Linked DNA regions of Homo sapiens: regions 2, 3, 4 and 5 are each linked to region 1. Evidence: promoter capture Hi-C in 16 types of primary human blood cells and fetal thymus (Javierre and others, 2016). All regions are on one chromosome and are shown on one strand. Each heading gives the region's core, a stretch centred on a gene start or on the middle of the fragment in contact. The rest is flanking DNA. Distances are from core to core; before and after follow the strand shown.

What was found. Contacts are between HindIII fragments. The CHiCAGO score rates a contact against its expected background, and 5 or more counts as called.
Region 2: a fragment that was not itself captured here is called in contact with the fragment with the promoter of NXNL2 in region 1 in 2 of 17 cell types (M1 macrophages and megakaryocytes); the score reaches 5.6 in M1 macrophages.
Region 3: a fragment that was not itself captured here is called in contact with the fragment with the promoter of NXNL2 in region 1 in 1 of 17 cell types (M0 macrophages); the score reaches 5.4 in M0 macrophages.
Region 4: a fragment that was not itself captured here is called in contact with the fragment with the promoter of NXNL2 in region 1 in 1 of 17 cell types (M1 macrophages); the score reaches 5.1 in M1 macrophages.
Region 5: a contact is called between a fragment that was not itself captured here and the fragment with the promoter of NXNL2 in region 1, in 1 of 17 cell types (total CD8 T cells). The highest score is 5.9, in total CD8 T cells.

What each region holds. Positions count from the first base shown.
Region 1 is chr9:88,533,222-88,538,507 of GRCh38, reverse strand. It overlaps NXNL2 (nucleoredoxin like 2), which reads right to left and starts at 3,330. Exons shown (of 2, transcript NM_001161625.2): 1 at 2,772-3,330. The coding sequence starts at 3,073. LOC105376134 (a long non-coding RNA gene) reads left to right here and starts at 3,968. Exons shown (of 2, transcript XR_007061653.1): 1 at 3,968-4,494. RefSeq lists enhancers at 1,876-2,709, 2,710-3,544. The HindIII fragment of the contact is 6,313 bases long and covers 1,525-5,286 here.
Region 2 is chr9:88,091,435-88,096,720 of GRCh38, reverse strand. No RefSeq gene overlaps it. Among named protein-coding and RNA genes, the nearest start is that of LINC03026, 16 kb to the right of the region's middle. The HindIII fragment of the contact is 2,637 bases long and covers 2,005-4,641 here.
Region 3 is chr9:88,138,859-88,144,144 of GRCh38, reverse strand. No RefSeq gene overlaps it. Among named protein-coding and RNA genes, the nearest start is that of SPATA31C2, 3.0 kb to the right of the region's middle. The HindIII fragment of the contact is 599 bases long and covers 2,271-2,869 here.
Region 4 is chr9:88,157,250-88,162,535 of GRCh38, reverse strand. No RefSeq gene overlaps it. Among named protein-coding and RNA genes, the nearest start is that of SPATA31C2, 21 kb to the right of the region's middle. The HindIII fragment of the contact is 3,267 bases long and covers 1,193-4,459 here.
Region 5 is chr9:88,210,083-88,215,368 of GRCh38, reverse strand. No RefSeq gene overlaps it. Among named protein-coding and RNA genes, the nearest start is that of SPATA31C2, 74 kb to the right of the region's middle. The HindIII fragment of the contact is 629 bases long and covers 2,025-2,653 here.

The DNA of each region.
Region 1 (5,286 bases), core at 2,081-4,580:
GCAAGGGGCAGACGTGGCAGAAGGCGAGCCACAAAGCTGCATCCTCCGTGGCCTCCAGCTTGCCCTTGACACCATCTTCTGGCTGATGGGTGTCTCATTAAAGCCAGCCCATAACCTTTACTGTTCAAGCTCTTTGAGTTGTTCTCATTGCTGCTGTTTTAATCACTTGCAACATTAAATCAAGCTCTAACACAGTCAGGGGGATGCAGAGCAGGCTGGGCTTTGAGGAATCAGGAGGGTGGAGGTGGTCATTTCACTGATATTCCAAGAGACACTCAGTACCAGCCCTCAAATCCCCATGCTGGCAGCCTCTGCCTGGGGACAAATGTAACCTTGGAGCTGCACATGAGAGGCAAAGAACCTCACTTTTTCCCTAATGTCATCTCAATCCCCTCTGGGCCCTGAGCTGTGTCCACAGAGAAAAGAACTTGCTTTTGGAGGAGAGAATGTTGTCATGGTAATAACTTAGGACTTTAAGCATTTGGGGAAAATCCAAGAGCCCAGTTCCTCCTTGTCCTCAGCACTGTTGCAACCAGCGTTGGTCCCTGCCTTCAACTAACACAGCCACATCCTTGTTGCTGGCATAAACCACACTTCTGGGTTGCCATGGCAACTCCTGACTCTAGTCTGTCATCTCAGCCAGGAGCAGGCTGTGGCCAAGCAAATCTCTCTGCAGAACTGTCTTTTGCTCACTTGCTTCAACTACTCACCAAACACACTCCCTGGGGATGCCAGGCACTGAACCATGTCTGGCTCTGTCCTGTGGGCAATGGAAACTCAGGAAACCCCCGGAGAGTTGGAGCAAGGCATGGCTAAACCGGATTGGTCTTTGAACCAAGAGCCAATCAGATGGGAACACCAAGGTCCTGTAGACGTAGGATAAGCAGAATTTAGGGCGTAGCTCCAACAATTCCCACAGAATATCCCACTACCTAGCTTACACATGACAACAACAGAGTTAAGGAAGTTCAGTGTGGAAAGGGGTAGGGACAAACAGCTAAGTTTACAAAAAGAAAAATCCCTCCCAGGCCAGCCAGGCTGAGAAGATAGGAGCACACAGCTGACCCACGTCACGCAGCTCACTGCCTCCAGCTGGAGCTCACAGGCTTGACCAGAGCATCAGAAACAGACGAGCAGTCTCCATGGCCCCAAGCGATGACCTCCCCAGTCCAATCTGTGTGCCGCTGGGGACCAAGACTCACCACCCCCTCAGTGAGGAAGTAGGGCACGGCAGAAAGAGGGTCCTCAGAGCCAGGAGAACTGAACTCTATGCCTCAATGGCACATCTGTAAAATGGGGCAATAGACTAGAGAGCTGGGACATAACCAGCGGACACATGAGCTCATATGTGATCAGCTCAACCCTGACAACAACCACGTGATGTATCATATGCTCAGCAATAAAATACCTTGCCTGCCATCACCTGGCAAGTAAATCCCAGAGCTGGGCCAGAGCTTTGTGCCTAATTACTATAATGATACTGCCATCGTCTCTCGCTTTCAAACCTGCGTTCTTTCAAAAGCTTACAAATAACTTGAGTACTAAACAAGTCCAATCCTGTTTTTAAAAGCACCACTTGAACTGATTCTGTAAGAAATCCTTTTGCAAAGTGAACCACCCATCTTGGAGATTCATTATCAATAGAACTTTCAGAGTCCCGGTGTGAGTGAGGCTCCCAGAAGCAGGTTACCCCCCTGGAAGGCTGGGCGGTGCCCTGCCTGGGCCTCCTCTTTCACTGGGAATCACCAAAAATCATGTTTGGGGGAATAATTAGATTTCTTCCCATTAATTACTCATCTACAAAACTTTCCAAAGTTAGCTTCCAGTTTTCATTTTCCAGAAGGAATGTCATCTCATGATAATCAGTTTAGGGGGTAATGCCACAACTTAATGATAATCTCCAGAAATGTGAGGCTGTAAAGCAAAACCCAGAAATTCACATTGGTACCTAGAAGGGGGTGGCCAGGACAACATACTTGACGAGGCCTGCTTTAAACCTAAGTCTGGACTCTTACACCATAGGAGACCACAGGAGACCCACCCCAAAAGCAGAACAATCAATCCCTGTAATCCCCTCTCTGCCAATCCCTACCCCCTCCTTTGCAACAGTTAGAGTAATAAAGTTTATAGTAATGAGTTTTATGCTTCTCTAGTGATGAAATTCCATCAGTGTCGGTAAAAATGAAACCGCAAAGGTGGCCAGCACCTGGGTTCCTGCCAGCCTTGAAGCCCCCGTCCCTCCCTCCCAGCAAACCAACCACGGCCTGCACTGTGGGTGCCTGTCACAGAGCTGATGTCCTCGCGGGTCATCCCTCATCCCCGCATCCAGACACCGGGTCATGTCCCTGTGCTTCCTGCCCACTAACTGGGAGGATGACGCAGCGGCGCCGGGAGTCCAGGGCTGATTGGGCCGGCGGTTCCCGGAGCCGAGCCCGCGAACTCACAGCATCACCACCACTGGGAGCTCCTTCGCAATGCAGATTCCCGGAGCTCCAGACCCCAGGCAGAAACGCGCCCGCGTCCATGCTCCACGAGCCCCCTTGGGGTGCCGATGCCCTGGGTTTTCGAATCTGGTCTGCACCCTCCCTGGTCTCCAAGAGAGGTTGAAACTGAGACTGAGTGTGATTTACCGGAGTCCGGACGTGAACCGAGAGACGGGGAGGTGTTGGGGGGGGGCGTCATAAAGAGCTCCCCAGTGCAGAGGGGGAGGCCTGGGGGAACATGGGGGAGACGTGCCGGGCGGCCCCCGCCCCCCCAGGACCCCCACTCACTGCCGGTAGGGGTCGTGGAAGGGCAGCGCCAGCCAGGCGCCATGCAGCTCGCGCATGAAGTCCAGCATCTCCTGGGAGCTGCCGTCGGCTGACACGAAGACCACTTCGAAGGGCGCGGGCCGCCGCGCCTCGGCCACCAGCGCCGTATAGAAGTCGCAGAGCAGCGGCGTGAAGTCGCGGCTCGGCGCGCACCGGGCCGCCGCGAAGTACAGTGCCACCACCTTGTTCTGCAGCGCCGCCTCGGCCTCCACCGTCGCGCCCTTACAGGTCACCAGGTGCCGCTCGCCCAGAATGTCAACCATGGCGCAGACACGCAGCCACCTGAGACCCGAGGACACCTGCAGGAGGATGATCACCTGCGGGGAGGCGGCGGCGAGCGCCGCGGTGCCCCGCCTCTGTCCGCACCACCGGGCGCTGGACCTCTCAAGACCTGCCCCAGATGCGCCCACACCTTGGCCAGGCCTCGCCTGTGGCTGGAGCAATTGTGTTCGCGCCGACAATGAGACACTCAGACACCAGAGACCCCAGATACCTGGGCGACAGCGCGGCACCCGCCTCTGGGAGCGGGGCCAGCCAGGCAACCTCAAGCCCTCAGGTCTCTGCACCCTCCCCCAACTGCGCCCCGCCCACACTCCTGCGCCCTCCCACCACTGCGCCCCGCCCACATTCCCCGCAAGCTCCCCAACTGCGCCCCGCCCACATTCCGCACTCTCCACCCACTGCGCCCCGCCCACATCCCGCACTCTCCACCCACTGCGCCCCGCCCACATCCCCGCCCCCGCCCCCACTGCGCCTCGCCCGCATCCCCACACTGTCCCCCACTGCGCTGGGCCCACATCCCTACACTCTCCACCCACTGCGCCCCGCCCACATCTCCGCACCCTCCCCCACCGCACCCCGCCCACATCCCCGCACTCTCCTCCAACTGCGCCTCGCCCACATTCCACAGTTTCCCCTCACTGCGCCCCGCCCACATCCCCGCACTCTTCTCCAACTGCGCCTCGCCCACATTCCACAGTTTCCCCTCACTGCGCCCCGCGCACACTCCCGCTCCCTCCCCCACTGCGCCCCGCCCACACTCCCGCGCCCTCCCCCTCACTGCGGCCCGCCGACATCCCGCGCCCCCGCCCCCATCCCGACTGCGCCCCGCCCACCTCCCGCGCCCTCTCCCACTGGTTGTCCAGCCCACATCCTGCACTCCCTCCACTGCGCCCCGCTCACACTCCCGCACCCTCCCCACACTGCGCCCTGCCCACACTCCTGCACTCTCTCCCCACTACGCCCCCTACCACATCCCGCGCCCCCGCCCCCATCCCCACTGCGCCCCGCCCACACTCCCGCGCCCTCGCGCCCCTGGGCTCTCCCGTCGTGGGCACTCTCCCCAGCGCTTCTACACTTTCTCCCGACGCAGCGCCCTGCCCTCCGTCCCGCCCCACCTATTGCCTCCTGCGCTTCCCCCACACCGTGCTCTTCCTCCTCCTTCACTTCCTCCCACTCCTCGCGCTCCCCTTCAGCGCCCCACGCAGCCCCTCCCCCAAAACCCCGCGTCGCTCTCCTTCCCTCCTGGCCTCTCTTCCAGTCTCGCGCTCCCTGCCGGGCCCCGCCGCAGGTGTCCCGCAGCCGTCTCCCCAGGGCATTTGAATCTTGCCTTGGAGCTCTTGCCGCGCGGCCCAGCACCCTGGAAGAGGCATCAGGGAGGATGGGACGACGAGGAAGGGGAAGGGTAATTGGGCTTGGAGCGGGCTTGGGCGGGGTGGTAGGGAACCTGAGCTCCGTTGGTTCAGGGTGTTTGCCCCTGACATCCTGTGGCCTGGCTGGGAGGGTTCGTGAAGTTCAGGAAGAAATTGGGAGCAGTCCTTACAGAATGTTTTATTTGAAGAACCAAGAGTATTAATTTTTTGGCGAGCACTGTTGTAGGCCCTGGGAATTCAGCAGTGAGAAAAATAATTTCAACTCCCTGCCAGACCCGGGCTAGAAGGAGGCAAGCGAGCGAGGCACTCGCATAGGGGCAAAATTTAAGGGCGCGACAAAAAAACTCAGTAGTCAAGGTAAATAATGTTTTAATACAATATCTTAAAAAGTCAAAATGAATGCAAAAAAAGTTTATAATGAACAAAATATCAAAAACTTAAAGACAGTGAATGAAACCAAAATATGCCATCCTAAAATATGCCGCTTTGGTATATTGATTATTTTGAGCGAGAGGCACTTGAAAAATAGCAAATGCAGAGAGACGTTCTCCCCTTACCTGTCTAAAGACGGAACCTCCAAAAGAAACTGATTGTCGTAAATTCCCTCCCGGGAGGATGGACTCTTATCACAGCAGAAGTCCACACCACACCTAGACAAACTTTGTCACAAACTCATAAAGACTTATGCATCTTTCCTAAAAATCAGTTACTCTCCCCTAAGTGGCCTACACCAGCTTCCAGTTCCCCAATTTTAGAAGCTCTCAAAGCTCACTGGTTTGGGGGGTTTTCACCTAGTTTCCTGCAATGCCCCCATGCAGGTGATA
Region 2 (5,286 bases), core at 2,074-4,573, 440 kb after region 1:
ACTTCCCATATTGAGGGCAGAGAATGTGCAACACAGCAGAACTGTGCTTCTGGTCCTCTATTCACTCCGAATTTAAAAAATTAGGGCCAGGCATGGTGGCTCATGCCTGTAATCCCAGTAGTTTGGAAGGCCAACATAGGTGGATCACCTGAGGTCAGGAGTTCAAGACCAGCCTGACCAACATGGTGAACCCCCATCTCAACTAAAAACAAAAAATTATCCAGACGTGGTGGCGTGTGCCTGTAGTCCCAGCTACTCAGGAGGCTGAGACAGGAAAATCGCTTGAACTCAGGAGGTGGAGGTTGCAGTGAGCTGAGATCGTGCCACTGCGTTCCAGCCTGGGTGACAGAGCGAGACTCCATCGCAAAAAAAAAAAAAAAAAAAAAAAAAATATATATATATATATATATATATATATATATATATATATATATATATATATATATTTCGTGTTTGAGGTCTCTTGAGAGTTTGGTTAACTTGAGTTTATAGCTATGGGTCTATGGAAAATAACTGTGGACACTAGGCAGTAGAGACCTTGCTAAGGTGGCAATGTCTGGGAGAAAGCTCCCTGGCCAGCAGGCATCTTCCCTGACATCACAGTGAGGTCAAAGCTTCAACACTGATGCTTGTTCAAAATGGACTGGGGAGTCTGGGATCAGCCCACCAGTAACACACCAAAGGCCTTCTCTGCATGTCGTTTTCCACTGGAAAACATTTTCTCCAAAGAGAAAATTCCTTGGACGTTTTTGTCTCATCTTTTTATAAAATTTTTTCTCAATCAAACAACAGACATTTCATGAAAGTCTGAGTACTTCCTTTTTTTTTTTTTTTTCGAGACAGAGTCTTGCTCTGTTGTCCAGGCTGGAGTGCAGTGGCATGATCTTGGCTCACTGCAACCTCTGCCTCCCGGGTTCAAGCAATTCTCCTGCCTCAGCCTCCCGAGTAACTGGGATACAGGCATGTGCCACCATGCCCGGCTAATTTTTTAGTAGACACAGGGTTTCACCATGCTGACTAGGCTAGTCTCGAACTCCTGACCTCGTGATCCATTCGCCTCAGCCTCCCAAAGTGCTGGGATTACAGGCGTGAGCCAACGCGCCTGGCAGAAAGTCTCAGTACTTTCAATAACAAAAAAATGTAGTTTAATTTTGGCCACAGAATTTCTTTTTTGACCCAAAGTTACACAACATGAAAGTTCTGCCAGACATTTTGGGTTGGGCCAGCCTATCTAAAAGTTGGCATCTCACTGGGGATTTTGATCCCTGTTCTTGAGCATCTTGACCTGTGACCATGCTGTACAACTCTCGTGATACGGAAGCTGCTTCTTGTGAGAAGAGGACTCTTAGCTTAGATCTCACAGTGGTGATTTTCTAGCTGATGGGAAGATATGCAGCAGGTCAGTCTTGATATAGGTGTGGTGAGAGCAACAGGCTGGGGAAGGACTTGATATCCACAGATGAGCAAGCTGGGACAGTCACACAGCTGCAAGGAAGAGGCAGGTTCGTGGGCCCAGGATGAAAATCTTTCAGAGGGAAGGGTTAGCCTTGGTGCAGTGGTTAACAGCTCCAAAGCTATCACAGCTGACAGCTTACTTCACGACCCCCGATCTAGACTTCTGCCTCTCCTCAGCAGGAATGGGAGAATGGGAGAGATTATGCTGCACCAGCTGCCTGTCTCCTGGGGGTCAAATTTGAAGACATATATCTCCTTCAGAATTACAAACCAAAAAGGAAACATTTATTATAACAAGAAGACCCCCATTCCCTTTGATAAAGTTGTCATATATTTTATTGAAAATTATCAAAATTATAGTTTAATGCATTTCAAGGTGCTAGTAGCAATATCACAAGATTCTTGGCATGAATGAACACATGAGCGCAGTCATCTCATAGCTCTATCAAGATAAGCTGTGGTGTCAGTCATGACACAGGAGCAAAGAGCTTGCTCAAATAATGATCAGAGTTCCTGCCACTTCCCAGCTCTCTATTTGTCTACAAAGCTTCTTTTTTTCATTAAATTTTTAACATTTTGTACAAAACAGTTATTCCAGGCACTTTTCTTTCAAAATGATTTCATTACCCATTTCCTTCTTTTAAAATATGCCAAATTGGGGGCCAGGCGTGGTGGCTCATGCCTGTAATCTCAGCACTTTGGGAGGCCGAGACAGGCCAATCACTTGAGCTCAGGGGTTCGAGACCAGCCTGGGCAACATGGCGAAGCTCCATCTTCACTAAAAATACAAAAAATTAGCCTAGCATGGTGATTTGTGCCTGTTGTCCCAGCTACTCGGGAGGCTGAGGTGAGAGAATCAATCACCTGATTGATTATATATTGATTATATATATATAATATATATATACCAAATTGAGAAACTACAGCTCTCTCATTCCTTAAGGTGTAATGCTGAGTGTTTTATTAGAAAATTTGATTACGTTAGGGGAAAAATAATCCCACTAGACAAGGCTCTGACCAAACTGCATTCAAGGTGCTACCTTCAGCTCCAGATGCTGGGTCTTCAGTGGGGGCTACATCAGGTGCACCCTTGGTAGAGAGCTGCCCTCAAGCACAGGAACCTGGAGCCAGGATGTCTCAATGTGGTCAAAAAGACCAAGGCTATTAAGGCTAGAGAATAAAAGACTTCAATATTTGCTTTTCGTTATTCAAGAATGCATCACAGAGAATTAAGTGTCTTCTTCAACTTCACTCTTGGCCTCAGGGATGAGACTAAAAAGTAGAAACAGGAGAAGGGAACTAATATTTCTCATGCATCTTCAGTGCACCTGGAAATGCTCTCAGGCAGTCCTCCCATAATTGGCCCCATTTTACAGAAGAAGAAGTTGAGGCACAAGAGGATTAAGAATTCACATTCTCGGCCGGGCACGGTGGCTCACGCCTGTAATCCCGGCACTTTGGGAGGCTGAGGTGGGTGGATCGCAAGGTCAGGAGTTCAAGACCAGCCTGGCCAAGATGGTGAAACCCCACGTCTACTAAAAATACAAAAAAAAAAAAAAAAAAATTAGCTCGGTATGGTGGTGGGCGCCTGCAATCTCAGCTACTCGGGAGGCTGAGGCAGAGAATTGCTTGAACCTGGGAGGTGGAGGTTGCAGTGAGCCGAGATCACACCACTGTACTCTAGCCTTGGCGACAGAGCAAGACTCCGTCTCAAAAAAAAAAAAATTCACATTTTTTGCCTGTGAATTAGTTACACAGTCACCTAATGGCAAGATGTATCTTCGAGGAAGAGGAAATAGATACCCCCAACCCACAGGGAAGTCAGGGCAGGGTCTCACACCTGGAGGAGTCCTGGTCAGATGCTCCCTTTGGAGTTGAGTGAAGGGCAGGTAGATAGAAAGCAAAGAAGACAAACAGCCAGGAGACCAGCCGTGCACAGGCCATGTGCAGGCTAGAGCTGACAGAGACCTGGGCCAGGCCAGAGGCAATCAGACGGCAGAGAAACGGGGCTCCAGAGGGGCCCAGGAGGCGAGTCTGTACAGCGGCTGCCTCATGGGTCAGAGTGTGAGATGGTGCCCAGGTCACATGTCTGCTGTGCAACAGACAAACACAGCTGTAGAGGGCTGCAGCAGAGAACAGTTTCGTCATCACTAGTGCTCAGTGAGGAAAGGGGGGTAGTTCTCAAGCCTCTCATTTCATTGAGGGGTTCTGGGCAAAGGTTTTTAAGGGGATTTGTGGAGGTGAGGGGCTGGGAAATTTGGATGGTCAGTTGGTCTGGGTGAGGGGATGAAATCATCAGGATGTGGAAACTGCATTCCTTCCTGAGCCAGCTTCCTCCTGGGCCCTCCACACCAGCTGGTGTCTGTCGCTGAGCAGAACCTGAAGAAGCAGCTCGAACAGAAAGCTGATGGCCTCACAGCGCCTCAGACTTTATCCACAGAACGGCAACCCAGAAGCGGGCCAAAGGGCAAGCCGACCTAAAGATGGCTGTTTCAAGCCTAGTTGGATTTTATTTTCTTTTTTCTTAATTGATTTTACAAAATTGCGGAGGGGTGGGGGGGGCGTGGGGGGAGTGCGGGAGGCAGTTTCAATATGAGGAATACAGAAGAGAAAAAGAGATCTCCTGATCATCAGGAAGTTCATGTAAGATAGCCCATCCCAGACTACTGATCAGAAATCAAACAGGAGCTAGCCACAAACAGAGATCATTGGAACCGAAGAAAATAGATTTTTAATCAAAATTTCTATTTTTCAATTGTCTGGCTTTGTTGAGAGGAAATGTCCTCAGCACTGGGGCCCTTTCTCTAAGTCATCTAGCTGTGTGGGCATCTGCTTACTGTTAGTGACAGCACTAAAACGATTAGTAATAATTTATTGGTCATAATCATCGACAGTTTACAGCAGAAGGCAGCAAACTACAGTCCACCACCTCTTTTATGCCACCTATAAGCTAGAAATAGTTTTTTTTACATTTTTTAATGCCTGGGGGGGCAGGACAGTGGGGAGAAGAAGAATATTTAGTGACATGTGAAAAGTATGTGAAGTTCAAGTTTTAGTGACTGTAATAAATGTCCAAAATAAAGTTTTATTGGAACACAGCCATGCTCGTTCATTCAGGACTGGTCTAGGGCTGTTTTCCCACTGTAATAACAAGGTTGAGTAGTTGTGATAGAGGTTTGCAAAGCTTAAAATATTTACTATCTGGCCTTTCATGGAAAAAATTTGCTGACCTGTGATTGAGAGAATAAAGTATGTGTGTGTGTTTAATTCATTCCTTGCTTACTATTTGAAATGGCTGACTACAAAAACATGCTTAAATTTATCAAAGACATTTAGAAAAGAGAGAGAGAAATCAGAACCACACAAAGTGGCTTTTCCAGAGAAGGTATTTGTGAAATAAATGACAACATGAGCAAATTCCCAAAACTGATTAGAATTTCATACCCTTCAAAGAAAAGAGAATTTTAGATATGCTTTGAGATTTAGAAAACAGGCTCATATTTATAATATGTTTAACACAGAAAAACTGGACAGAAGAATCAAAATGGTAACTAAAATGGAAAGGTTTCCATTCATATCATATTAATGGAGTTGTGATTGTCCACTTAGCTGATAGCTAAACAACGTTTGCGTGGGGCGAGGTGAGGTTCACATGACAACCTCTTGTAGCAAATGTGAAAATTACAATGGGCATCCTCATAATCTGGAAACCTAACAGTCTCCATGGCTGGTAAGCCCTTTGTGCCTGATATACCCTGGGCACTCTTCTAAGCACCTGGCAGGCATTATCTCAGGAGGATTCAATTTTGAATTAGTGACTCATTTTTAGAT
Region 3 (5,286 bases), core at 1,321-3,820, 390 kb after region 1:
AGAAATGCAAATTAAAACCACAACGAGATACCATCTAACACCAATCAGAATGACTATTAAAATGACAAAAAATAACAGATGTTGGCAAGATGTAGAGAAAGAGAACCCTTATAACACTGTTAGTGCAACTGTAAATTAGTACAACCTCTGTGGAAGACAGAACAGAGATTTCCCAAAGAAACAAAAATAGAACTACTACATGATCCAGCAATCCCACTCCTGGGTATCTACCCAAAAAGAAAGAAAGAATTATATTAAAAAGATAACACGGCCAGGTGCGGTGGCTCACGCCTGTCATCCCAGCACTTTGGGAGGCCAAGGCGGATGGATCACAAGGTCAGGAGATCGAGACCATCCTGGCTAACACGGTGAAACCCCGTCTCTACTAAAATATACAAAAAAATTAGCCAGGTGTGGTGGTGGGCGCCTGTAGTACCAGTTACTCAGGAGGCTGAGGCAGGAGAATGGCGTGAACCCAGGAGGAGGAGCTTGCAGTGAGCAGAGATTGTGCCACTGCACTCCAGCCTGTGTGACAGAGCGAGATTCCGTCTCAAAAAAAAAAAAAAAAGAAAAAGATAACACGGACTCATATGTTTATCACAGCACTATTCACAATGGCAAAGATACAGAATCAACCTAAGTATCCATCAATGGCAGATTGGATAAAGAAAAGGTGGTATTATACACACTTGAATACTACTCAGTCATAAAAAAGAATGACATCATGTCTTTTGCAGCAACAGGGATGGAACTGAGGGTCATTACCCTAAGTGAAACAAGACAAACATAGAAAGACAAATATCACATGTTCTCACTCATAAGTGGAGGCTAAATGAGGTGTACACATGGGCGTAGAGTGCAGAATAATTGACAATGGAGACTCAGAAGGGTGAGAAGGTGGGGAAGGGAATGATGAGAAATTACACAATGGATACAATGTACATTATTTGGGTGACGGATACTTTAAAATTCCTGACTTCACCAGTATGCAATGGATTTATATAACAATATTACACTTGTACCCATAAATTTATATAAATAAAAGTTTTTAATAAAATAAAAATGAATGTGAATATTTATACTTTTATGACCATAGATTTGTTTTTGCTTTTTCTTGTCTGTCATTCTTCTCACTTGTTTCTCTAGATTATTATGATATTTAAACATTATATTCATAAATAAAATTCATGTGTGACATATTACATTACATGGGAATTTCCAAAATGTACCCAAATTATTTGAATTGAGAGAGTTTAATATGTGGAAAATATCATGAAATTATATAGGACTAAAAACTACATCAGCAATATTTAAAATGTCTAATTTTGATCAATAATTGGTCTAAATCAAATGGTTTATAATTATAAAAGGAATGAATTTCACATTAAAATAATCTCTATGCTGAAAATAAGAAAAACTGATTTTTCCACCAATGACTATTTTCAGTGCCACTTACTGGTGAATAAATCAAATTAAATACCTGCCTTCCCCACCTCAAACGATGTATTAAGAACAGATATCCAGGTATTGCTCTACTTTCTATTAGGAATTTGAGTTTAAATTGAATAGAATTCAGAATACAACTTAGCAGAGAAAAGAAAACTGATGTAACAGGACTGAAGAGCTGTGTGGGGACAGAAAGAAGGAAGGAAAGAAGGAAGGAAGGAAAAGGAAGGAAGGAAGGAAGGAAGAGAGGGAGGGAGGGGCGAAGGGAGAGAGGGAGGGAAGAAAGAGGAAATACATAGTTCGAACAGTTAGAACCAAACTCTCAGAACGTTGGTATGCCAAGAGTGTCTGGGGCAGTCTCCTCCTTCTTCCATCCAGGGCCTATCATTGCAGAAAGATTTTTCTTGAGTACTGTCAGTGAAGTCTGCAGGGAAGTCACCCATCCTTTCTTCATTATTTTATTTATTTATTTTTATTTTATTTTATTTTTTATTTTTGAGACAGAGTCTTACTCTGTTACCCAGGCTGGAGTGCAGTGGGGCAATCTCTACTCACTGCAACCTCCACCACCCAGGTTCAACAATTCTCCTGCCTCAGCCTCCCGAGTAGGCGGGATTATAGGCACCCACCACCACACCCAGCTAATGTTTGTATTTTTAGTAGAGATAGGGTTTCACCATGTTGGCCAGGCTGGTCTCAAACTCCTGACCTCAAGTGATCCTCCTGCCTCAGCCTCCCAAAATGCTGGGATTACAAGCATAAGCCACTGCACCTGGACCTTTCTTTGTTACTAATTCTTGTCAGTACCTCCTATCTGCTAAGCTTGGGAGCGTTTCCTAACGTCTAGCTTACATCCTTACTCTTTCAATTCAGGTTGGTTATCACCTTGTGCAAATGAAAATGCTCTCCTGGATTAGATGTCTAATTCATAGTGCCCTACCCCTCCCATCCTCTCTGCACACATCTCCAGCAGCGATCCTCAGGCAGGCAGGACCCAACTGTGTACACTGTACTTGGCCTCCACTGCAGGGTGTAGACCAGACTTCTCTCCCAGGGCTTGAGAACACTGCGGGAAGCTCTCTGGCACCCATGGAACGTGAGGGTGTTACCATCTTACAGGTCATTGGGAAACAGGAGCTGATGGAAACACCAAGATTCCACAGACAGTGGCACTAGGTGCCTGAAACGAGTCACTTGAGAATTCACCCTGTATTACCTTCCCATCCTTTCCTGTTGCAGTCCTCCATTTCTGTTCTCTGGAATTACCTGCATTCCTTTGGCTCAGCCCTTGCTTTTCAGGGGAACCCAACCCAATATGCTCAGCATCAGCACATATTCTTTATCTCAGCTCTTGAAGGCTAGTTATTTAACGTTGTTTGATTTGTGATAAATTAACTCGCCTTTTCACTCCGGAGAGAAAGCTTGTCCTGATAAAATGCTGAGATTACAGGTGTGTGATTGTGCTTTTCTGGTGTCATGTCTAATAATTATTCATCAAGTCCTAGGACCTGAAGAATTTCTCATTAAATTTCATATTTTTACATTGAGATATGTGATCTTTTTTTTTTTTTTTTTTCTTTGAGATGGAGTCTCGCTCTGTCGCCCAGGCTGGAGTGCAGTGGTGCCATCTCGGCTCACTGCAAGCTCCGCCTCCCGGGTTCACGCCATTCTCCTGCCTCAGCCTCCCGAGTAGCTGGGACTACAGGCATCTGCCACCATGCCCGGTTAATTTTTTTGTATTTTTAGCAGAGACTGGGTTTCACCTTGTTAGCCAGGGTGGTCTCGATCTCCTGACCTCGTGATCCTCCCGCCTCAGCCTCCCGAAGTGCTGGGATTACAGGCATGAGCCACCGCGCCCGGCTGATCCTTTTTTTTTTTAATAAAGACATGAGGTTAGATTGAGGTTATTGTTTTGTCTATGGTATCTAACTGCTCCAGAACCACTGTACTATTGAACTGATATTGCACTTTTTTCAAAAGTCAGTTGGTTGTACTTGTATGGAACTATTTCTGAGTTCTCAATTCTGTTTTATTGAACTGTCTGTCCCCCTGCCAATACCACACTGTCTTGATTTCTGTAGCTATGTAAAAAGTTAAAAAATTGGGTAGAATAATTCCTCCCACTTTATTCTTCTATTTCAGACTTGTTTTGTTGAGCTGTATTATAGAAAAAACTATTCGTGACACCTGTTAAAAAATAGTAAGACAAACGTTATTCAGAGGGATTATTGCAATAGATATAGAGATTACTGCAATAGGGTCTTGCAGTAATCTCCAGTTTCCATATATTCAGGTTTCCCTCTGAATAGAAATTTTATAGCCACAGAGCAGGGTGGAGGGGTGGTAGTGTATGGAAAATTACTAATAGGAGGGAATCTGGCTAAACTGACCTCACAGAATTCTTGCTGAAGCCATGCCAGAGTGATCAGATATCACCTGGGGATGGTAGACAATAAGAAAACCAATTAGATACCAATGGTGGTCAGATATGAAGATGGAGGAAGACTCCATCTCAAAAAAAAAAAAAAAGATCACATCTCAATGTAAAAATATGAAATTTAATGAGAAATTCTTCAGGTCCTAGGACTTGATGAATAATTATTAGACATGACACCAGAAAAGCACAATCAATTCTAAGAATTTATTAATTGGATGTTATCAAAATTTAAAACTTTTGCCCTGCATAAGAGCCTGTTAATAAAAAGACAGGGTAAAAACTGGAAGAAAAGTGCAAACCACACCTGATAAACCGTATCTGACAAGGAGCTCATATCTAGAATATTGTTTAAAGTTTTCAAAAGTCAACAACGACAACAAGAAAAAACAAGCCAATTAGAAAATGGGCTAAAGGCATGAACCGATATTTCACTGAACAGGATATATTGATGGAAAATGAGAAAATAAAATAACTTTCATCAGAGGAATGCCAGTCCTTTTAAATTATCAAGCCCAGAGAGACATTAAAATAAGACAGCAGGCCCGGCACGGTGGCTCACGCCTGTAATCCCAGCACTTTGGGAGGCCAAGGCGGGCGGATCACAAGGTCAGGAGAACAAGACCATCCTGGCCAACACGGTGAAACCCAGTCTCTACCAAAAATACAAAAAATTAGCCGGGCGTGGTAGCACATGCCTGTAGTCCCAGCTACTCGGGAGGCTGAGGCAGGAGAATGGCATGAACCCAGGAGGCACAGGTTGCCGTGAGCCAAGAGCGTGCCACTGCACTCCAGCCTGGGCAACAGAGTGAGACTCCATCTCAAAAAGAAAGGAAAACTGCAGGTCCTGCACATGTACCCCGGAACTTAAAATAAAATTACATAAGTACATAAATAGAATTTTTAAAAAATCTTAATTGTATGTGGGTAGGTCCCTTTGATTGAAAGTGAGATAGAAGGATGGGCGCAGTGGCTCATGCCTGTAATCCCAGCACTTTGGGAGGCAGAGGCGGGCAGATCACAAGGTCCGGAGATCGAGGCCATCCTGGCTAACACGGTGAAACCCCGTCTCTACTAAAAATACAAAAAGAAATTAGCAGGGCGTGGTGGTGGTGGGCGCCTGTAGTCCCAGCTACTCAGGAGGCTGAGACAGGAGAATGGCTGGAACCCGGGAGGCGGAGTTTGCAGTGAGCCAAGATCACGCCACTGCACTCCAGCCTGGGCGACAGAGAGGGACTCCGTCTCAAAAAAATAAAAAAAATAAAAAAAAAGGAAAGTGAGATAGAAATAATTTTTTAAAACTTACTATTCAAAATTTGCAAAACTAAATAAGAGTAAAAGAAATTTACATTTTGTCCCTGGATTCACAGAAGACAAAAACATTGTGTGGGAAAGCTGGAGTTGAG
Region 4 (5,286 bases), core at 1,577-4,076, 380 kb after region 1:
AGGCAGAAGAATTGCTTGAAGCCAGGAGCTTGAGACCAGCCTGGGCAACAAAATGAGACTTCATCTCTACAAATTTTTTTTTTAATTAAAAAATATTAGCTGAGCATGGTGTTATGCCCCTATAGTTCCAGCTACTCAGGAGGCTGAGATGGGAGGACTGCTTGAGCCCAGGAGTTAAGAGACTGTAGCGAGCTATGATCACACTACTGCTCTCCAGGCTGGGTGACAGAGCAAGACCTCTTCTCTTTAAAAACAAAAAATGCAGACAGTAAACTGAAAGCTACACATATTTCTATATTCTACAGGAATGTGACCTTGTGATAACAGTAAATCTTATAAGTGTATTTGTTTAAAAAAATGGATTTATGTGCCTATAGAAGAGGACTAAACAAATGTAACATGTAAGTATTTAGGATGATGATTCAAAATAATTTTTTTGAAATGAGAGAAGAATCAAATCTGCAGATTTAAAAAGTGCACCATGTTATGGAGGAAAATGATATAGAAAAGTCATCACTCAGCCATACCCTGGTAAAGCAATTAGACTTCAAAAATAAAGAGAAGATAATTTGGGCATCTTCTAAAAAAGATCAAGTGACTCAGAAAGAGAAAAATAATAAGACTTGATTCCGATATCTCCTCCTCCACCATGGCAGAGCCTGCCAGCTGTCCAACAAAACCCCATTTTCTCTGCTTCCTGGGCACATAGCTCAACATTCCTACCCCCCCACAACCTCCCCCACCCCCTGCCAATGCAGATAGGTGGCCAGTAGTGACTTAGTAGCAGAAGTGATTGTGCTATTTGGGGCCTAGTGTTAAGAAAGCTGCAGTCCAGTCCCCTCTCCAGACTCTTTTTTTTTTTTGTAGTGGGTGCTGAGGTCCTTAGGCTTGTTTTCAGGGTTTCTTCCTCTCCATGTTGTTTTTTTTTCTGTTCTGACTCAGATCCAAGGTTCTTTACCCCCTTGTATTCTTCTAGCATCTCTTCATGTCCCTTGGGAGGAGCCAGGGATAGAAGAGGAAGCACCTTGTTATGTTAGGTATAGCTTTCTTCATATTATCAGACATAAGAGCAGGCATTGAAAGAGATGCTAAAATGTGTATCATTGCACAAGACTTCCTGGGCAATTTGAATGGCGATAATGTACCTTCCGAGAAAAGGTCTCAAGTCCCAAGTATTTATCACGTCAAAGCTTTAATCTCCCTAGTGCCATATTGTTCTGCTCAGCGGGAGACTTCTAGGCTAAAAATACAAAGTCAAAGCAAAAAGGATTAGGGGAGAGGGCAAGCAATTACCTAAGCATCTGGTACTGTATAGGAAAATGTTAAAATGGATCGTTCAGGGGAAGGAAAGTATTCCTGTAACCTCACCCAAATGACTACGAATTTCTGCTTCATTTTAGCATTTGCATGTTTGTGTTCGTTTTTCTTGTCCCCCACGTTCCTATGGGGCTGGTCTGGAGCATCCAGATGACACCGGCACATAAAGTAAGTTGTACGAGAAGAATATGAACATGAGAAATCCATCGCTTTAATAGCAAGCAGCAAACAAGCCTCCTCTTTGTCCAGAGAGAGACATTACCCCATCCCTCAAGGTTGCCTGCTGCGAACAGCCCTGAGAAAAGACGCAGATAAAGCGTGATCGGGGTTTGGCATTTGTGGAAATCAGAGTAACCGGCAGTGGTGTGAGAGACCCAGGAGGGCTATCTTTCCTCAACAGGGAGGAAGTGGAGGTGGCAAGAAAAGCATTTTTAAATGGAAAAGTGAAGAGGCTGTGGGAGCAGGATGGTCACTCAGTACTGGTGGAGGCCCCAGGTGCAGCTTTTGAGGCAATGTGGCAGTGACTCCAACTGGTCTACCAGGCCTGACCTTTACCTGACAATGTCTAGTCATTGAGGGAGGGAGGGAGAGAGACGGGAGGGAGAAGATATAAGAACAATTTGGAAGAGTAGAAAGGAAATAAAGTGAATCTGAGGTGTTTGCAAAGGAGGCAGAATAATGTTTAGGGAGACACAAGATTATGGGAAGAGTGGCTAGGGTTTGCTTCTTGGATGTGAGTTATTCGGCAGAAAGTTCTGTCAGGGCATGGGAGAAAGTCAGGAGAGAGACGAGCAACAGCAGAGCTGAGGATACCAGTTGGCAAGGAAGGTATCTGTGCAGGTCCCCATGGCAGGGCAAAGACTTCCGTAATCATATGCACTAGAGGCTGAGGTAGAAAATGCCTGGGAACATGGCCCATGTGCCAGCCCACAATAGGTCACACACAGAAGCAAAGAGGAGCAGGGGCTGGAGGGAGCTGGGGCTGGGGAAATTCTGTGCAGGATGGAACCTGTAGGAGAAACGAGGGAGTCCCAGGGCCACCCAGTGACCTACACAGAGGAGCCAGCATTGGATGCTGCTGAGTCTGGAGATCTCAGGCTAAGGAAGGGGACCACAGACACGTGCCTGATTGCAGGAGCCCACAGGCCCTCCCTGCCCTCTGCTAATGAGCAATGGGCCCTTTCATACACCAGGAGGAAGGAGGAGAAGAACCAAGAGTGGGAGAAGACTCCCTCAGGAGCATCAAGAATGGGGGGAAAGTGATTAGGTTTGGCAGAAAAGCTCTCTGAAGGAGACAGCATTTTAAAACTCAAAGTGACTAAAGAACCAAAATGAAGCTAAAATATAAAATTGATTCCTCTTAGCAGAGAGAGAGACAAGAAAATTTCATTTTCTAAACACATCTTGACTTTATATTTTTAATTTTACTGTTCATACCTCTTTCACCCAGTGGTAGAAGGTGACACAGGCCCATGTAATCACAGTCCCCTCATCCCAGAGCAGAGGCAGCCCAGACAGGGGCTTTCCTCCCACAGTGGGACAGGTAGAGGTCCCTTTGGCAGCGCAGAGAAAAATAGGCAAGGGGCACACTGCCCTGCAGAACCTGATGCCTCCAGATCCCCTTTCACCTGCACGGACGATGAAAGCTGGCACCAGGTGGCTGAGAGCAAATGAGGAAAATGCTCTCGTCGCAAGTGCTGGTATTTCCCACCGACACCCAGTGTACCGGGGAAGTGCACTCCACCAGCTCGGACCAAGGGAAGGACACGGGCAAGAACAGCACCGCGGAGGTTTCGAAAACTCTACTGTCATTAGAACCACAGACCACAGGCCGGGCGTGGTGCCTCAAGCCTGTAATCCCAGCACTTTGGGAGGCTGAGGTGGGCAGATCACCTGAGGTCAGGAGTTTGAGACCAGCCTGACCAACATGGAGAAACTCTGTCTCTACTAAAAATACAAAATTAGCCAGGTGTGGTGGCACATGCCTGTAATCCCAGCTACTCGGGAGGCTGAGGCAGGAGAATAACTTGAACCTGGGAGGTGGAAGTTGCAGTGAGCCAAGATCATGCCATTGCACTCCAGCCTAGGCAATGAGAGTGAAACTCTGTCTCAAAAAAAAACAAAAAACAAAAACAAAAACAAACAAACAAAACACAAAAGAACCATAGCCCACAAAAGCAGGAATAGGACCTATGCACTAAACTTAAACAGGGTGACTGACTGCTAGGAAAGGAGATTTAAGTAGAATCTAAAGTCATAATGTGCAAATGTTTAGGATACAATCAAAATTCACTTGTCATACCAAGAACCAGGAAATTGAAAATGGAATGAGAAGAAACAATCAACAGACACCATACCAGGGTGAATCAAGGTTGGAACTATCTCACAAAAATTTTAAAGTAGCCATCTTACAAAAATCATTCAAAAGAGCAATTACAAATATACTTTGCAAATGAAAAAAAAATTAGGTCTCGCTAAAGAAGTAAAAGATGTAAAAAGGAACCAAATGAAAACTATAGAAATGAAAAGTACAATAGTTGAAAAAAAGAGACTTATTGGATGGGTGCAGTGGCAGAATGAATATGACAGAAGAAAGAAATCAATGAACCTGAAGATAAAACAATAAAAATTACTCAATCTGAACAACAGAGAGAAAAAGACTTAAAAAAAAAAAAAGAACAGAGTTTTCAGGACCTGTGAGACTATAACAAAAGATCTAACATTCATAAGCAGACAAAGAGAATAGGGCTGAACAAGTATGCAAAGAAATAATGGGCCAGGCACAATGGCTCATGCCTGTAATCCCAGCAGTTTGGGAGGCCAAGGCAGGCAGATTACCTGAGGTCAGGAGTTCAAGACCTACCTGGCCAACATGGTGATAACCCTGTCTCTACTAAAAATACAGAAATTAGCTGGGCGTGGTGGCATGTGCCTGTAGTCCTAGCTACTTGGGAGGCTGAGTCAGGAGGATCGCTTGAGCTTGGGAGGCAGAGGTTGCAGTGAACCGAGATTGCACCACTGCACTCCAGCCTGGTAATAGAGAGAGACTCCATCTCAAAAAAAAAAAAAAAAAAAAGAAACAGAGAGAGAGAGAAAGAAATAATTGGTGAAGACTTTCTAAACATGGCAAAAGAACTAAGCTTATAGATTAAATTACCTAAGTGAACCCTAAATAAGATAAACCCAAGAAAACTCATGCCAAAACACATCATAATTAAATGAAAGGCAAAGAAAAAATATCCTGAAAAGAGTCATCTGGAGCCATGATACTACAAGGAAGTGGAAACAATTTTTCAAGTTCTGGAAGAAAAAACTATTCATTGTGAGTTGTATGTTTGGTGAAAGTATCCTTCAGGAATGAGGAGGAAATAAAGACACATTCAGATGAAGGTAAAATAAGAGAATGTGTGGCTAGCAGACTGACTCTTAAAGAATGGCTAAAGAAAATTCTCTAAACAGAAAGGAAATGACAACAGAAGAAGACTTGGAAATCAGTAAGGAAAGAATAACAGAATGGACAAAAATAGGAGTAAATAGACGATCTTCCTTGTGAGTTTCTAAATCATATTTCATGGGTGAAACAAAAAATATAACACCATCTGATGGGGTGTTTAATGTATGTAGAGGAAATACTTAAGACAGTTAAACTTAAAAACTGGGCAAGATAAAAGAAACTAAGGAGGAGTAAGGTGTCTACAGTTCACCTGAAGTGGTAACACTTTGTGTGACAGTAGACTGTCACAATTTATGTATAAATACTGTAATGCCTAGAGAAACCACTAAGAAAACTATCCAGAGCAGTATACTAAAAAATCACATACATATTTATATATCTCATTAAAATAAAGAAAATGTTGGCTGGGCGTGGCTGGGTGTGGTGGCTTACACCTGTAATCCCAGCTCTTTGGGAGGCAAGGGGGGCAGATCACCTGAGCTCAGGAGTTCCAGACCAGCCTGGCCAACATGGTG
Region 5 (5,286 bases), core at 1,090-3,589, 320 kb after region 1:
TTTCAAAAGGCAATGTGGTGTGAAAAATGTTAACCTCGCAGGAGAGGCAGGTTCTGTAGATAGGGAGGCTATGGAAGAACTTTAAAAACACCTTCTAAGTGTTACATAGGAAAAGCGTTATTTGGGAGAGCAAATTTTCAACGCTGATGAGACTTACTTGTTTTACAAGGACGTTAGCAAACAAAGCTATATAGAGTAAATGGTGTTTTGGTTGGTGAAAATGTTATGTCTGGAGCCTGGAAGGAACCTAACCCTGTGGTTTAGCTTTTGCTAAGTTGATGTTTGCAATGACTTTATGGAACATAACTACCCCTAAATTTAAATGAGAATAGGCTGTAACTGTGTCTTTTATTTCCTTCTGTTGCTTTTTGCACGGGTTAGAGCTTCCAGGACTAAGTTGAATAGTAGTAGTGAGGGTGGGGACCTTTGCTGTGTTTGCTCCTGATTTCACGAGGAGAGCATTCGGTCTTTCACTGTTATGTTTTGCAGGAATTTTTTTTTTTAATCAGGTTGAGGGAGTTCACCTTTATTCCTAGTTTTCTCAGAATTTTTTTAAAATCATGAAAGGTATTAAGTTTTGTCAAATGCAGCCTAGTAATCCCTCTTCTAGGCATATATCCAAAGGAAATGAAATCTCTACCTGGTAAGGATATCTGCACACCCATGTTGCAGCATTTTTCGCAATGGCCAACGTATGAAAACAACCTAGGTGTCTATTAATGGATGAATGGATAAACTATGGCATAAATAGACAATGGAATATTATTTAGCCTTTAAAAAGGGAGATCTTGGGCTGGGTGCAGTGGCTCATGCCTGTAATCCCGGCACTTTGGGGAGGCCGAGGCAGGTGGATCACGAGGTCAGGAGATCGAGACCATCCTGGCTAACACAGTGAAACCCTGTCTCTACTAAAAGTACAAAAAATTAGCCGGGCATGGTGGTGGGCACCTGTAGTCCCAGCTACTCGAGAGGCTGAGGCAGGAGAATGACTTGAACCCGAGAGGCAGAGCTTGCAGTGAGCCAAGATGGCACCTCTGCACTCCAGCCTGGGCAACAGAGCAACACTCCGTCTCAAAAAAAAAAAAAAAAAAAAAAAAAAGGAGATCTTGGCCGGGTGTAGTGGCTCACACCTGTAATCCCAGCAGTCTGGGAAGCCAAGATGTGAGAATAGCCTGAAGCCAGGAGTTCAAGACCAGGTTGGGCAACATATCTATAAAAAATATATGAGAGCCCCATATCTATAAAAAAAAATAAAAATTAGCTGGGCATGGTGGTGTATGCCTGTAGTCCCATCTACTAGGGAGACTGAGGCAGGAGAATTGCTTGACCCCAGGAGTTCGAGGCTGCAGTAAGTGAAGATCACACCACTGTACTCTAGCCTGGGTGACAGAACAAAACCCTGTCTAAAAACAAAACAAAAACAACAACAAAAAGGAAGATCTGCCATTTGCCACAACATAGGTGGACTTGGAACATATTATACTAAGTGAAATAAGCTAGACACAGAAAGAAAAATATTGCATGATCTCACTTATGTGGGGTCTCTAGAAAAAAAGAGATCAAGTATATAGAGACAGAGAATAAAACAGTGGCTACCAAGGTTGGAGTTGGGGAGGAAATGGAGAGGTTTAGGTCAAAAGATACAAAGTAGCAAATAAATATGTAGAATGAACAAGTGGAAAGGTCTAATGAACAGCATGAAGACTACAGTGAATAATAGGGTATCATATTCAGGATTTTTCCTTAATGGGTAGATTATAGCTGTTTTTGCCACAGGAGGAATTATGGATAACTAAATGAGATGATGGAGATGTTAATTTGTTTCACTATAGTAACCATTTTCTTATATATGTATCTTATAACATCATGTTTGTACACAATAAAATTTATTTAAATAAACAAATTTTGTCAAATACTTTACTGCATCAATTGATAACATCATGTGAATTTTATTCTGTTAATGTGGTGGATTACATTGACTGATTTTTTAATATTGAACCAACCTTGCATTTCTGGAATAAGCTTCATTTAGTTATGGTGTGTAATTCTTCTTAAAAATCACTGAAGCCTATTTGTTAATACTTGTTTAAAGGTTTTTGTGTCTACATGCATGAAGGATATTGATCTGTAAGTTTCTTTTTTTGTAATTCTTTGTCTGGTTTTGGTATTAGTGTGATACTGGTCCCATACAATGAGAAGGGAAATATTTTCTCTTCTTATATGATCTGGAAAAAATTGCTTATTGTTAGCATTGATTCTTCCTTAAACAGAATTATCCAGTGAAACAACTTGACATGGCGATTTCTTTTTCAAAGAAAAACGTTGTTTTAATTTTAGAATTAAAATATCTATACATCTAATTGACGAAGATTGTTACAAAGAATAAGTTCCCTGTGTCTATTCACCCATTTCCCACTCCCACAGAGCAACTCTTGTAAACTTTCTTAGCTAACCTTTTGATATCTTCCTCCATGTCTTCAACAAAAATGCCTATATTGTTACTTATTTGGTTTTGCAGATTAAAAATTTCTCTAAGACTTCCCAATGTGGAAGATGATTTATCTCCTTCCCTCCTTCCCTTTCCTAACCTGACAAGCAATTTCTGTCTTCACTTTCTCCCAATCTAATTAAATAGACATTTTTTTCTTAAGCTTAGTAGTCAGCATTTTTATTAGTTGCACCTTTCCAGCTGAACCATGGACCATATACAATGATGATGGTGACGGTGGTAGTGGTCGTGACAACCACAATAGTTAATACAACCTGGGCAACACAGCAAGACCTTGTTACTACAAAAAAAAAAAAAAAAAATCAGCTGAGTGTGGCAGTGCACACCTGTAGTCCTAGCTACTCAGGAGGCTGAAGCAGGAGAATTGCCTGAGCCCGGGAGGTCAGGGCTGCAGTGAGCTGAGCTCGCACCACTGCACTCCATCCTGGGCAACACAGCCAGACCCAGTCTCTAAAAAAATAAATAAAATAAAAAATAAAGACCGTTAACATTTACATGGGGCTTTCTCTGGGCCAGAAAAAGATCCAAGGACTTTAATTTTCACAAAACTTTCACAAGACTGTTATAATAATCCTGATTTTATATATGAGGACCATGGAGATGAAGTGATTTGCCCAAGGTAATTCAGCCGTTAAGTGGCAAAACCAGAATTTGAACCCCAGGCATTCTGGATCTGTATTCTGTAGGTGTGGCCACTACCCTACAGTTTCTAACAAATTTATGTTTGTTCTTGAGTTAATAATAATCTTTTGTTGGTTGCTTATTTTTCCATATATTTATCACTTACGCATTTCAAGTTCTACTTCAGTCATGAAAAGCTTCTCTCAATGTGTTCAAACACATTAGCACTATTATTGTCTTCTTGAAAAAATATTCTAGAGTTCTGGGCTGTCTGTTCTCCAAGCCTGCTTGTGGCTGGCATCCTGGACTCTTTCTCCTGTCCTGTCCTGAGGACTCCCTTCATCTCTCCTTTGTTTGGAACCCACTGTTTTCTGAATGCTAATCATGTTCTTTGTTGTTTTATTTCCTCATTTTGATCAACAACATCCTCTCAGCTTCCAGAGACAATAGAATAGAAAGTAAATTTTGCAACTTCTTCATGTCTAAATATGTCTTTATTCCATCTTCACATTTAATTCATACTTTGTCTGGGTATTGAAGAATCTATAGGCAATCCGAATGTTGAAGATAATCCTCCATTGTTTTTTAGCTTCTACTGTTGCTGTTGAGAATTTCAAAGCCATTCTGATTCCTACTCTTTGCATTTGACCTGCTTTTCCTCTAAGGAAACTTGGAAAGTCATCTTTCCGTTCCCAGGATTCTGAAGGTCACTAATGATGTGTTTGATGGGGGACAAATCTCATTTAATGTGCTCCCCATTTGGTGGATCCTTTTCATTTGGCAAGTCAAATTCTTCAGTTATGATATATCTTCTTGAATTATTTTTTGATTCCTCCTGCTACCATTTTTTCAGTTCACTCTCAGAAACTCTCTTTATTGGAAGTTGGCCCTTCTGAAGTTGGTCAACTAATTCTTTAAAACCTTAAAAAATAATTAATATCCTCAGAAACAAAACAAAAACCTTAGAAATAAACAATAACAAAGGCGCTGATAATCACAAATTTAAAATATAATATCAGAAAAGTCACACTAGATCCATATATTTGACGACATTAAAATCAAGAACTCCTGTTCATCAAAGCACATCATGAAGAGCTCTTTCACATCCCTTGTAGGTTGGATTCCTAGGTATTTTATTCTCTTTGAAGCAGTTCTGAATGGGAGTTCACTCATGATTTGGCTCTCTGTTTGTATGTTATTGGTGTATAAGAATGCTTGTGATTTTTGCACATTGATTTTGTATCCTGAGACTTTGCTGAAGTTGCTTATCAGCTTAAGGAGATTTTGGGCTGAGACAATGGGGTTTTCTAAATATACAATCATGTCATCTGCAAACAGAGACAATTTGACTTCCTCTTTTCCTAACTGAATACCCTTTATTTCTTTTTCCTGCCTGATTGCCCTGGCCAGAACTTCCAACACTATGTTGAATGGGAGTGGTGAAAGAGGGCATCCCTGTCTTGTCCCAGTTTTCAAAGGGAATGCTTCCAGTTTTTGCCCATTCAGTATGATATTGGCTGTGGGTTTGTCATAAATAGCTCTTATTATTTTGAGATACGTCCCATCAATACCTAATTTATTGAGAGTTTTTAGCATGAAGGGCTGTTGAATTTTGTCAAAGGCCTTTTCTGCATGTATTGAGATAACCATGTGGTTTTTGTCTTTGGTTCTGTTTATATGCTGGATTACGTTTATTGATTTGCATATGTTGAACCAGCCTTGCATCCCATGGATGAAGCCTACTTGGTCATGGTGGATAATCTTTTAGATGTGCTGCTGGATTCAGTTTGCCAGTATTTTATTGAGGATTTTTGCATCAATGTTCATCAGATAAAAGAGGACACAAGCAAATGGAAGAACATTCCATGCTCATGGATAAGAAGAATCAATATAGTGAAAATGGCCATACTGACCAAGGTAATTTATAGATTCATTGCCATCCCCATCAAGCTACCAATGACTTTCTTCACAGAATTGGAAAAAACTCCCTTAAATTTCATATGGAACCAAAAAAGAGCTCACATTGCCAAGTCAATCCTAAGCCAAAAGAACAAAGCTGGAGGCTTCATGCTACCTGACTTGAAACTATACTACAAGGCTACAGTAACCAAAACAGTATGGTACTGGTACTGAAACAAAGATATAGACCAATGGAA